Linked DNA regions of Homo sapiens: regions 2, 3 and 4 are each linked to region 1. Evidence: promoter capture Hi-C in 16 types of primary human blood cells and fetal thymus (Javierre and others, 2016). All regions are on one chromosome and are shown on one strand. Each heading gives the region's core, a stretch centred on a gene start or on the middle of the fragment in contact. The rest is flanking DNA. Distances are from core to core; before and after follow the strand shown. Region 1 holds the start of HOXC6 (homeobox C6). Region 2 overlaps GPR84-AS1 (GPR84, ZNF385A, ITGA5 and GTSF1 antisense RNA 1). Region 3 overlaps LOC105378250 (a long non-coding RNA gene). Region 4 holds the start of NFE2 (nuclear factor, erythroid 2).

The links. The method cuts DNA at HindIII sites, captures the fragments that hold promoters and counts their contacts. A CHiCAGO score of 5 or more calls a contact.
Region 2: a fragment that was not itself captured here is called in contact with the fragment with the promoter of HOXC6 in region 1 in 1 of 17 cell types (total B cells); the score reaches 5.0 in total B cells.
Region 3: a contact is called between a fragment that was not itself captured here and the fragment with the promoter of HOXC6 in region 1, in 1 of 17 cell types (M1 macrophages). The highest score is 5.2, in M1 macrophages.
Region 4: a contact is called between the fragment with the promoter of NFE2 here and the fragment with the promoter of HOXC6 in region 1, in 2 of 17 cell types (activated CD4 T cells and naive CD8 T cells). The highest score is 8.2, in activated CD4 T cells.

Annotation. Positions count from the first base shown.
Region 1 is chr12:54,027,001-54,029,778 of GRCh38, forward strand. HOXC6 (homeobox C6) reads left to right here and starts at 1,440. Exons shown (of 2, transcript NM_004503.4): 1 at 1,440-1,921; 2 at 2,655-2,778. The coding sequence starts at 1,522. It also overlaps a transcript of HOXC4 not described here and a transcript of HOXC5 not described here. The HindIII fragment of the contact is 15,214 bases long and covers 1-2,778 here.
Region 2 is chr12:54,391,220-54,393,997 of GRCh38, forward strand. The region is part of intron 1 of GPR84-AS1 (GPR84, ZNF385A, ITGA5 and GTSF1 antisense RNA 1); the gene reads left to right. It also overlaps a transcript of ZNF385A not described here. Among named protein-coding and RNA genes, the nearest start is that of ZNF385A, 7.9 kb to the left of the region's middle. RefSeq lists silencers at 1-38, 79-288. The HindIII fragment of the contact is 1,408 bases long and covers 741-2,148 here.
Region 3 is chr12:53,755,582-53,758,359 of GRCh38, forward strand. All of the region lies in intron 1 of LOC105378250 (a long non-coding RNA gene), which reads left to right. It also overlaps a transcript of CISTR not described here. Among named protein-coding and RNA genes, the nearest start is that of CISTR, 5.0 kb to the left of the region's middle. RefSeq lists an enhancer at 1,813-1,862. The HindIII fragment of the contact is 201 bases long and covers 1,318-1,518 here.
Region 4 is chr12:54,299,681-54,302,458 of GRCh38, forward strand. NFE2 (nuclear factor, erythroid 2) reads right to left here and starts at 1,335. Exons shown (of 3, transcript NM_001136023.3): 1 at 1,121-1,335. RefSeq lists a cis regulatory region at 1,107-2,081 and an enhancer at 1,482-2,222. The HindIII fragment of the contact is 10,882 bases long and covers 1-2,778 here.

The DNA.
Region 1 (2,778 bases), core at 190-2,689:
ACACTCCCCACCACCCTTCTTTGTCAACTCAAGGCATTTTCAGCCTATATCACGATATCAAATTAAGTTTGGACTAATCAGGAGAAAACCCCCATCTGCACACTTTCCGCTGTTTCAGTTCGCCTACTGCGGCTCCCTCACAAGCCTCGGATTCAGCTGCCTTTTCGTAACCGTCTCTTCCCTTTTTTTAGCCCCAAGATGGGGGAATAAAATGGGCGTTGAGGTTGCTGAGAGGCCCATCCCCACCACGGGTGACTGGCACTTGGGTGAGAGCTCCTTAGAACCCCTTTCTGAAGTCTCCAAGCCTCATAGCTCAGGTCCAGGGGCGCCTCCACTGGCGGTGCCCTGAGTCTGGAGGGGGCAGGGGGGCTTCTGACCAAGGCAGGGGCTTGAGCCTGCAGGAAGCTAACTGTCCATCAGAGCCCCACCAGCCTTCTCTTTCTGGCTGGATCCTATGTGAATTACCCCACAGGCCCTCACTGGCTCCAAATAATAAATTCTCACCAACATAAACAGGAGTTGATGTCTCTAGAAAGATTCTCAGAGTTTTCGTTCTTCCTCTCTCTCTCTTTCTCTCTGTCTTTCCCCCTCCGGTGCCACCTCCCTACATTTTACTTCTTTTTCTCCTTTTTCTATTGCATTTTTTATACATTTTCCCTTTTAGGCAAAAATGCTGGAAGAGTTTTCCCAACAGAGGGGTCCTGAGAAGGAGGCAGAAGGGAGCCAGGAGGCAAAGGAGAGCAGATGCGTGGCCCATTTGCCCACTCCAGCTCTGCCACTGTACCCTGAAGTCTTGCCCCTTTAGACCTAGTTGTTCCCCACATCCCTACTACATTCAAGACTCTCAGCCACACTCTACTTACTCAGGGGAACAGGTTTTATGAAATTTCTTTCTACTTTTGATTTTTTTTTAATTATTGGTGAAAAAAATACTAGTTTAGTGATGGGACTCACTCCATGGAGTGTCAAAACAGGATTTCCTGCAGGATTTCTAGGGACCCCCCTCCTGTGCTGGGAGGGAGTTCTTCCCTTGGAGAAATCAGGATGTAATTTTAGAAGGGGGCAGATATAAAACATGAAACCAGATTGAAAATACAGGGGTTTCTCTAGCCCTGGCTCTGGCCACAGCACAGCAAAGTTAGCTGGGGCTGAGAGATTTCCTGGTAGTACAGCTCTCCTTCCCTGAGTCCCAAGGCCCTGCTCAGGGACATGCACCCCTCCTTCACCACCAAACCAGTTCCCTTACATATATATATATATATATATATTTTTTAAAAGAAATCCAAGTCTTACTTTCAAAGCACACACTTAGTCTCAACTAGGGAATCAACAGAAGCAGAAGCGATTTTTTTCCCCCTTCCTGACATCTGGCTTGCGATTGGCTGGGAGGGGGTCAGCTGACTTTGTCATTTTGTCTGTCCTGGATTGGAGCCGTCCCTATAACCATCTAGTTCCGAGTACAAACTGGAGACAGAAATAAATATTAAAGAAATCATAGACCGACCAGGTAAAGGCAAAGGGATGAATTCCTACTTCACTAACCCTTCCTTATCCTGCCACCTCGCCGGGGGCCAGGACGTCCTCCCCAACGTCGCCCTCAATTCCACCGCCTATGATCCAGTGAGGCATTTCTCGACCTATGGAGCGGCCGTTGCCCAGAACCGGATCTACTCGACTCCCTTTTATTCGCCACAGGAGAATGTCGTGTTCAGTTCCAGCCGGGGGCCGTATGACTATGGATCTAATTCCTTTTACCAGGAGAAAGACATGCTCTCAAACTGCAGACAAAACACCTTAGGACATAACACACAGACCTCAATCGCTCAGGATTTTAGTTCTGAGCAGGGCAGGACTGCGCCCCAGGACCAGAAAGCCAGTATCCAGATTTACCCCTGGATGCAGCGAATGAATTCGCACAGTGGTGAGTTTTACAGCTCCGAGATATAAATTAAATAAACTGAACTGGCTTTATGACCGGCTTCCCTAGAAGAACGGGCGGAGAGAGTTTTTTATGGCCCCATAAAAACAATCACGCTCGTCTCCTCACCGAGACAGGGCCCCCTCTTCTGCCCCCTCAGCTCGCCTCTCGCTCGCTTGCAGGGGCCTGGCCCCCTTGGCCCCTGACGGATTGGAGGGCCCCAAGGCGGGCTGAGGGGGCAGGAACAGGGCAGGGGATGAGGGGAGGGAGCAGAAGATAGGGGAGCCCCCCAAAGTGGAGTCAGTCTGAGGAGAAGGGAGGGGGAGAGGAGAGGCAGATAAGTGGGGAGAAGTTTCCAAGGAACTAGGATGCTTGGGGAGATGGGGGAGCCCAGTCCTTGAGAAAGGGGGCCCTCATCCCCATTATCTGGGATTTTTCAAAAATCTGCTTTTAGACTTGCAGCTTTCTGTTTGCCTTTTGCCCCGCCCCCCCGCCCCCCCCCCCACCACACACCTTTCTTTGGGACACACAGGTCCCACCTTATAGGAGGTCTGAAGTTGGGGTCCTCGCTGTACCCCCAGTGGGGGTGGGGCAAGGCAAAAGGGAGAAGGCTAGAGCCCTAAGGAGGCTGTGAGCTGCTGGCCAGGTTGGGAGGGTCAGGACTTTGCTAGGCGAAACAGTCTGCAGAGGACGCTTTGCTGATTGCTTTTAGTGTGTTTTGTGCCCGGATCTTTAGGGGTCGGCTACGGAGCGGACCGGAGGCGCGGCCGCCAGATCTACTCGCGGTACCAGACCCTGGAACTGGAGAAGGAATTTCACTTCAATCGCTACCTAACGCGGCGCCGGCGCATCGAGATCGC
Region 2 (2,778 bases), core at 195-2,694, 360 kb after region 1:
GCAGAGACCACTCACCGAGGATCATGCTGGGGACCCAGGCGCCCGGGGTTCCGCGTCGCTCTGTCCCGGGGGCCGTTCTGGCCGGGCTGGGGGTACGGGGGGAGGAGCCGGGGAGGAGCAGAGGCCGGCCGAGGCGGAGCGGGGGCGGGGCCCTCAGCAGGTGAAGACGGGAGGAGGGGACCCGGGCACTCAGGGCTCCGCGAGGGGGCGTCCTGGCCCCTCCCGCTTCCTCCCGCCCTTCTTCTTGCTGCCTGCTGGCCTCCTGGGTTTACGGTGTCACTGCGGCCAGGGCTGGGGGAACAGGACGTCTAGAAGACGGTGTGAGGTGATGGACGAAGCTGGAAACTAGGATGCCTGGGTTCCCGGGAAGGGCTGAGTCTGAGGGCGGGAAGTCTGGTGCTGGGCTGATATGGGGTGGGCAGGGGAGTGGGGGGGGGAGGGGGGCGGGGGTGCCTAAGTACTCTGGGAGGCGATGGGCCTTGGGTTGGGTAGGATACCTAGGTTCCCTCCAGAGTAATGGACTGAGCAGGGGGCAGGGGAAGTGCAGCAGAAATTGTATGGGTCCTAGTTTGTTGTTCTGGCTTTGGAGCAGGATGCCTGGGGGCTGGGCCTCTGAGGTGAAATGGGATGTTGAAGATGGATCCCAGGTTGAGTTCTGGCTGGGGTCTGAATGCCTGGGTCCTTAGGGAAGGTCTCAGCGAGGAGATTGCAATCAATGGACCTGAGGAGATGGAAATAGAAGCTTGTAACCGAGATCATTAGGGCAACTGGAAGATGACAGAAAATTCAGAACTGAGGCACCTTGTAGAGATGACCTGGATTAGGGTGGGGTGGCATCAGGGAGCATCTATCCAGGGCTAAATCAGCGGCATTCCCCACTAAGGCGAGCTTCGGTCGAGGAGGACTGGTGGGGGGGCATTTCGTGAGGTGGAGGGGAAGATGGAGGGTAGGACAAAATGTATGAGCAGGGGAGAATGTCAGGAGGGAGAGGAAGTACAGGCCACTTGGAGGTATTCTTTTCTTCTTTTTTCTTTTTTCTTCTTTTTTGAGACCCAAGTCTTGCTCTGTCGCCAGGCTGGAGTGCAGTGGCACGATCTCAGCTCACTGCAACCTCTGCCTCCCGGGTTCAAGCATTCTCCTGCCTCAGCCTCCCGAGTAGCTGGGATTACAGGTGCCCGCCACCACGCCTGGCTAATTTTTGTAGTTTTAGTAGAGACAGGATTTCACTATGTTGGCCAGGCTGGTCTCGAACGCCTGACCTCAGGTGATCCGCCTGCCTCGCTCTCTCAAAGTGCTGGGATTACTGGCGTAAGCCACCGCACGCAGCCCACTCAGAGGTATTCTTAAGGGACCCCAGTACAAGGTAGGAGTCTTGGAGAATGCAGATGTCTGGGGGAGATGGAGGCTGGATCTGTCTGTACTTGTCTCAAGAGGGAGGGTGGCAGCCAGATTTCCCAGAATGCCACACAGCCAGCTTCAGGCCAACCCCAATCAGAGGAAAAGTGGGTGGGAACTGGAACGTTTGAGGTTTAGGGAGGTAGAAGCTGAGGGGAAGAAGTTGGTGAAAGGGTGGTGGGACTGAAGTTTCGGAATGGTTTAGGAAGGGGAAAGAGACTGACATTCCTGGGTTCTGGAGGGAAATTGGGACTGGATGGTCAATTAAGGTGCAGGAAGTTTGAGTTTCTGTTTCTGGGTCCCAGCAATCTCTTGCCCTCACGCCAGTAATCTGGTTTGAAGAAAAGACCTGTTTCTGTACCTGCCAAGACACTCCAGCTCAAGGGAGAGAATGCTGGGAGTGCCAATGCCTTAGTCTCATTCTGATTCAGTGGGGCAGAGATCTCAGGGGATTGGCCTTGGGAGAGGATATGGGGTTTCTGGGTCCATCAGAGGAGGTCCTCCTGCTCTGGGTCTGACCTACCACCATGCTGGTCAACTCCAGTATGAAAAACCCTTGCTTCTCCTTAGACCCTGCACCTCCTTTCCTCTTCCCATTCTTTCTCCTCCTGGGTGGACTCAGAGACTAAACAAGAGCCATCATCAGGCATGGTCGATTGGTTTTAGAGACCCCTTTGCGCTCAGCTGTTGTCCACCCTGCCACACTGCCCCAGGGACTCTGGGTTAGGAAGATCTCAGAAGAGGGGTTGCTTAAGCTTACCAAGGGGAAGCAGCTGGCTAGAGGACGGGGTGACCTTGCAGGCAGCTGGGGTGGGGGGAAGGTGTGTGGGGTGAATTCATTATTGATGAGCCCTGCACCCCGGGCTACTAATGAGCCCAGGCCGGCTGCTCTAATTGATGTCAAGAAACTTGAGACCCCCAGATCAGCTTCCCGCCTGCCAGCTGCCTCTCCTGAGCCCCCTCCCCCTCCCTGCACCCCCAGCTGCTCTGTTCACTTCCTAAGGCCTCCTTTCCTTCTCCTTTTCATCTCCACCAACACAGACAAGGATAGGGCTCAGGCCTTCTAGCCCCCCTACACTTAAATTCGTCTGGATTATTCAAGTCTCAAGGTGGGAGCCACACTTCCTTCGGAGGGTTGGGAGATTTGGGAGAAGAAACTTAGACCAGGAGTCTGAGAATTAGAGCTCAGGGAAAGAGAGGCTCATACTAGATTACATCTGTGGCATTTCTGAGCTCAAGGAATTTCTTCCTTATATTGTGCATCCACGGGTAAGAACTTGTCACTCTCTCAAAAGTACAGGCCCTACACAGTGACACACCCATGACACCAGCCCAATTTTCACAGCCCACTTCCCTTCCTTATTTCCTCCTCACAACAGTGGA
Region 3 (2,778 bases), core at 168-2,667, 270 kb before region 1:
CAGCTCCTGGCTTTAATTACAGTAAGCCCTGAACATTCTGAACTTTATTAACCTCTTAAGTGTCCACAGGGGTGGGATGGACCTGGTGGGTTTTGCTCCCTGGTCCTCTCTGCAGGGCGTCTCTGGAGGGTCCCCTCTCTACGCTCTTTGCCCATCCCAGCCTTTGGCTGCACACCATTTCTCCTGGCCTCAGGTGGCGCTATAAATCACCTCTCCCAGAAAGGAGGCTACCACCTACCTATCCAGTCCATGTCTCACCAGCTGTCTTCATCTTGCCCAAGATCCTCTGGTTCTTTCTTCTCTGCAAATCCCATATGCTTTCCCCAGCACCAGTTTTTTGGATAACCTGATTAGCTGTTTTGGAGAGAGGGGCTCTTTTTGCAGGGACCCCTTTCTCCTCCTAAGTGTCTTACTAATTACAAACAGAGAAAGCCTGGTCTGTGAAGTTAGCCTGCCCCCAGCTCCCTGGCTTGGTGGAGGGAACCAGGAGCTAGGGGATTTAAAGCGCAATTTCCTGTGGCCTTTTCATTTCCTGCTGGGGGTTGTGGAGAGCAATAAGCAAGGTGGGTGGCAAGGGCCAGAAGGACCGGCCAGGTGGGGGATGGGCTGGGGGAGCCTTCCCTCCATGTACTCTTCTACCATCCCCTTTTCTGGCTCTCGAGGTAAGTTCTTTGGGGATGAAGCACCTGATAAATGAGGACCTGGAACTCCTTACAATCTCCCTCTTACCTCCCCAAAGTAAGAGAACGGAGTAGAGAGGAGTGGGAAAAGATCTGATTATTGTAATAATAGATGATACCACAGGAAGGAACCTTGGAAATCAGTTGGATCCCTTGAGGTTTTATTTTATTTTAAATAGAGATGGGGGTCTTGCTATGTTGCTCAGGCTAGGCCTTGAAATCCTGGGCTCAGGCGATCCTCCTGCCTCAGCCTTCCAAAGTGCTGGGATCACAGACGTGAGCCACTGCACTTGGCCTCTTTCAGGTTTCAGATGAGGAAATGGAGGCCTTGGAGAGGGCAGGTAACCTGCTCAAGGTTATGTATGTAAGTGGTGAGCTGGTGTGGCTGGGATTTAGCTAACTCTCATGATTCACTGTTTAGTGCTCTTTCCTCAGTCAGAGTCAGAGTGGGCTGTGGGTCAGTGATGTGTGTGTGTGTGTGTGTGTGTGTACTGGGGAGGGGGGATGAGATGGGAGGAAGTGGGGTAGGGAGCAGGGGATCTGGGGAGGTACCTGGATAGCAGGGGACTCCGGGTCCTGAAATGTTCACTCTTTGGTAGGTCCTGTGGAAGAGCGCAGGCAAGTCCTGACTTAGGGAAGCTTTTGTGAGCTGGCTCAGGAAACAGATGTGTGGATAAAAAGGAGGGGAGAGGGAGGAACTGTGGCCCTTGGAAACTATTAGCCCAACATCTCTTCTTCCCCTCTCCACAGTCAGAGGTGGATGAGGTGGGGGAGGGGCATGGCAGAGGACAAAGGAGCCAATTATTGAGTGAGTGGATTAATTGATTAATTGTCCAGAAGCTTCCAGTGCTCCCCAACAATGACATCCCCTCCCCCGACCCCAGTCAGGCATGGCCTCGGTTGGCCTGGATTATTAATTAGGGCTTGAAGTCATTTAACGATGATTTCATTATCGACGTGCTGTCTGTCTCGGGCTCAGCCCGGTTGCCAGGGCGACTCTGATCGATTGCCTTCCGGTCTTCTTGGCTTGGCCGGCTGCTTCCTTTCTGGAGCCTGGCTGTTGGCGAGCACTCCCTAGCGGCCCTCTCTGGTACTGCAGAGCTTCCCGGTTGCAGGCTTGAGAGACTCAGGCGAGGAACAGAGAGCTACAGCTGCCTTGGGGGTCTTTTCAGCTACTGACTGACCTAGCTGTTGCCTGGGAACCGGCTTTTCTCCTTTTCTCCTAGGTTGTGAAGTCCTTCTGATTCTGTCCCCTGGCCTTCTACCCATACCCCTTTGGGATGGGTGTAGGAATAGGTAGGGACCTCAGTTGTTTCCTCGCAGCCTTTCAATTTACCTCTGGGAGGCCCAGATAAGCTGTGATAAAGTTATTCCTGCTGCTAAGGAGACTCCTTAGGCTCTGTCTATCCTGGGACATCTGGCCTCTTGGACCTTGCATGAGGCTGGCAGGGAAGGAGTGGATGTGGGGATAATTTCCCCTTAGATTGCCTGAGTTAATGTTCTTAGGGTCTTCCCCGGCCGTGAGAGGAGCTGGGGGAGCTGGTCTTTGCAGAGCTCAGCTACTTCCTCAGCCTCAAGAAAGCCTGGGGAAAAAAGGCAGGGTCCAGGTTGTCATGCTAAGTCTTAGGTCTTCAGAAACTTGGCTGGTTACTCTATCTGTGGTCCCTGAAAACCTAGATTCATGCACATTCAGTGGTCTCAGGATCTCTACTCTATGCCTCAGTTTCTCCTTTCATGGGTTTCATGTATATATTTGTGGGGTCTGTTAGTAGAGAGTTGCTTGAAGGCATCGGTCATGGCTTCTCAGTAGGTGTCTAAATTGTTGACCCCAAAGTAATTGGGCGTCACTGGTGTCTTATCTCCCTTATCCTTTGCATGCTGCTAATTTTATTCTCAAATGCAGATCTCTCCTCAGTCCTTACCTCTCTTTACTCCTCTCCCCTTGACCCCTGACCAAAGACTGTCCCCAGCACCCTCCCCAGAACATGCCTCCCTTGCCTGCCTTCCTCTATTTCTCCTCCTCCTCTGCCCCACTTCCCCTTCTACTGGTTGTGCCAGGCTGCGTTAGCTCTGAAAAATTAAGAGCTGGGCTTCAGTC
Region 4 (2,778 bases), core at 85-2,584, 270 kb after region 1:
GATGGAGAGAGGAATACATTTGGCCTTAGCTGCTGCCCCAGGGCTCTTAACTTCCTTAACGAGGGGGAACGATGAGAGGGGGCTTGCCTCAGGATCCCTTTTCTGAGGCTTATTTGACCACCTCACCTCTCCAGGTGTCAATAGGTGCAGTGAAAGGATGAGGAGGGATTAGTAAAACTTGGGGTATTGGTTAACCGGTAAGCAACCTATTTAGAAAGATTAGGGAGAACTCCCGAAGAGAGAGAGACACACAGAGATGAGACAGAATGAAGGGGAAAAAAAGGAGGGAGAGAGATTTAAGCATAGTGAGCTCAGTGCCCTAGGGACATGCATGACTCAAACAAATGTGTGAGAACAAAGAAGAGGGGGACGAGTTTCTGCTATTGTGTCACTTCATCCCTGGACCCCAAACTCCAGTCCTTTGGTACCGATGTCTAGGGGATCCCAGCCCCAGCAGTTCTGATACCTCCTCTCTTCTCTTCCACTGCTTCCCAAGCCCCTATTTCCCAAGCAGCCAAGAGTTCCAGTTAGAAGCAACTATGCTGGGGTTGGGATGTCTTCCTTCTCCCTCCAGGTCCAGCTGATCTCTACTGCCCCTGGGCACAGAGAAGAGAAAGGGCAAAGGAGCCAACAACCCAGAGGCAATCTCCCATCCAACCCCCGCACCTTGCAACACTTCTCAGAGGTTCAGATATCCAGTGTTTCCAATTCCTCAGCTTTCCCTAAACCTTCTCAGCTGCCTAGACAGGGCAGAGTAATGGAATGGAGTTGGGGAAAGGGTAGTCTATTGGTTCCCTCAGGGTAGCCCACCAGTTGAAGGATTCCTCCTGGCTACTCCCCAGCCCCTCAGCGGTGCCTTGCCTCTGGAGACCCCTCTCTGATCCCCATTCACAGCCTCCACCCCAAGGATCCCAGAGCACCCAAGAAACCACTTAGGTCTTCTCCTAGAGGAGTTCCCAAATATGTCAGATTCCTAAACCAGGGGCAATCTAGAAAGTCTGAGGTCTCCTAGGATACCGAAAGTTGGTTATTTTCCCCCCTCACCTCCTTCACCCCCCAGCCTGCCCCTCGGATCTCACTGGAATCCGCCCCCCCCACACACACCCTGCCTTTCAGGCACCTGTGGTGGAGTCACAGCAGGGTGAGGAGAGAGATGAGGCTCCCGGTGTTGTCTCTGGGGAGGCTGAGCCTGAGCTGACACTGCTGGACGAGGATCCCGGCTACCTTTGAGAATCTGCGAGGACCGCGCCCCGCCCCCGGGCCATTGCTGAGCGCTGAGTGTGGAAGCTCAGGCTGAGCTGAGCACAGGAGCCCCAAGCAGGCGCACCAGCGTCTGAAGCCCTCGGCCTGAGTTCTCAGTCCTTCCTCCAACCCTCCCCTTTCCCCGTGGCTCTCCTCTCCTCCTGCCCCTTTCGGCCAAGAGAGGAAACTTGAGCCCGATGTGGTTTCTGCCCACACCCCGCCCCCACCTTGCTCCTGGCCAGCGGGGGCACACATGGCTCCAAGCCTCTCCCAGCCCTCCTTTTCAGCCCAGGAGTCCAGCCAGGTCTGCGTTTCTCCCATGCATTTGACGAATTCCAACCTGATGGTCCACTCGAATGTGACCTTTAAACTTTATACAGGTTGTCGTCGCCTTGTGTCCCCACGGCTCTCCTAGGGACAGGGAAACTGAGTCATATCAAGGTGGAAGGCAGCTGAAGGTAAGGACCAGGTGTCTAGCTTCCCAGCTGTCTAGGCAGTTGGACGTTTAGGGTATAGCCTTCATTTACAGAAAACCTGGGCTCTGGGAACAAGGGCAGGGGAACTATTTGGAGGAGGAGGGGCAACTGACTGCTTTGATGTGTCCTTTCACCTGTAGCCTTCTCCCCTCCCCCCTCAGCCTCAGAAGTCCCAGGACAAAGGATTCTTTCTTGGCCAGGTTTTTGTCAGTGTGTGAAGGGAGTTAGGTGGGGGGCCACCCAGCAGGGAGATTATTCACCTCCCGTAAAGGGGACCCCAGGTGTCCTTTGTCCTCCTTTCTCCCAGGCAAAGCACCCCAGCCACATGGCACCCAACTCTGTTAGGCCAGTAAGTACCCTTATTCATCTTTTTTTTTTTTTTTTTCCAGAGAGGGGCTCACTCTGTCTCCCAGGCTGGAGTGCAGTGGTGTGAACATGTTTCACTACAGTCTCAAACTCCCAGGCTTAAGCAATCCTCCCACCTCAGCCTCCCAAGTAGCTGGTTCTATGGGTCAGTGCAACCATGCCCAGCTAATTTTTTTTTTTTTTTTTTTTTTTGGTAGAAGTGGTGTCTCACTATATTGCCTTGGCTGGTATTGAATTCTTGGGCTCAAGCAATCCTCCCCTCTTGGCCTCCCAAAGTGCTGGGATTACAGGCATGAGCCACCTCACCCAGCCCACTTATTCATCTTTTTGCCTGCAAGCTACACCACCAAAGCCCCAGGTCAAACATCTTTCTCCACAGACTGTGAGAAAAGAGCCTTTCTTCCTCCTAATTTGTAATGGCTTTCAGCTCTATATGTCTAGCTTCAATCCTGACATCTGCAGCTTACATTTTTTCTTCTTACAATGTTCAAGTTAAATTAGAAACATCTGAAGACTGGGGAAGCAGATAGGTGCCACTCTGGAGTAGGACTGGCATTCAACCAGCATGCTCTGATGGGATTGTATTTGCTGTTAAAATAATGAAAATGTTCAGTCCTAGTTGATAAAAGGCAGCTGCTGTGAGCCCTCTAAGTGTCCCCCACGACTCCACCAATAGCCTAGTTCTCCTCTAAGA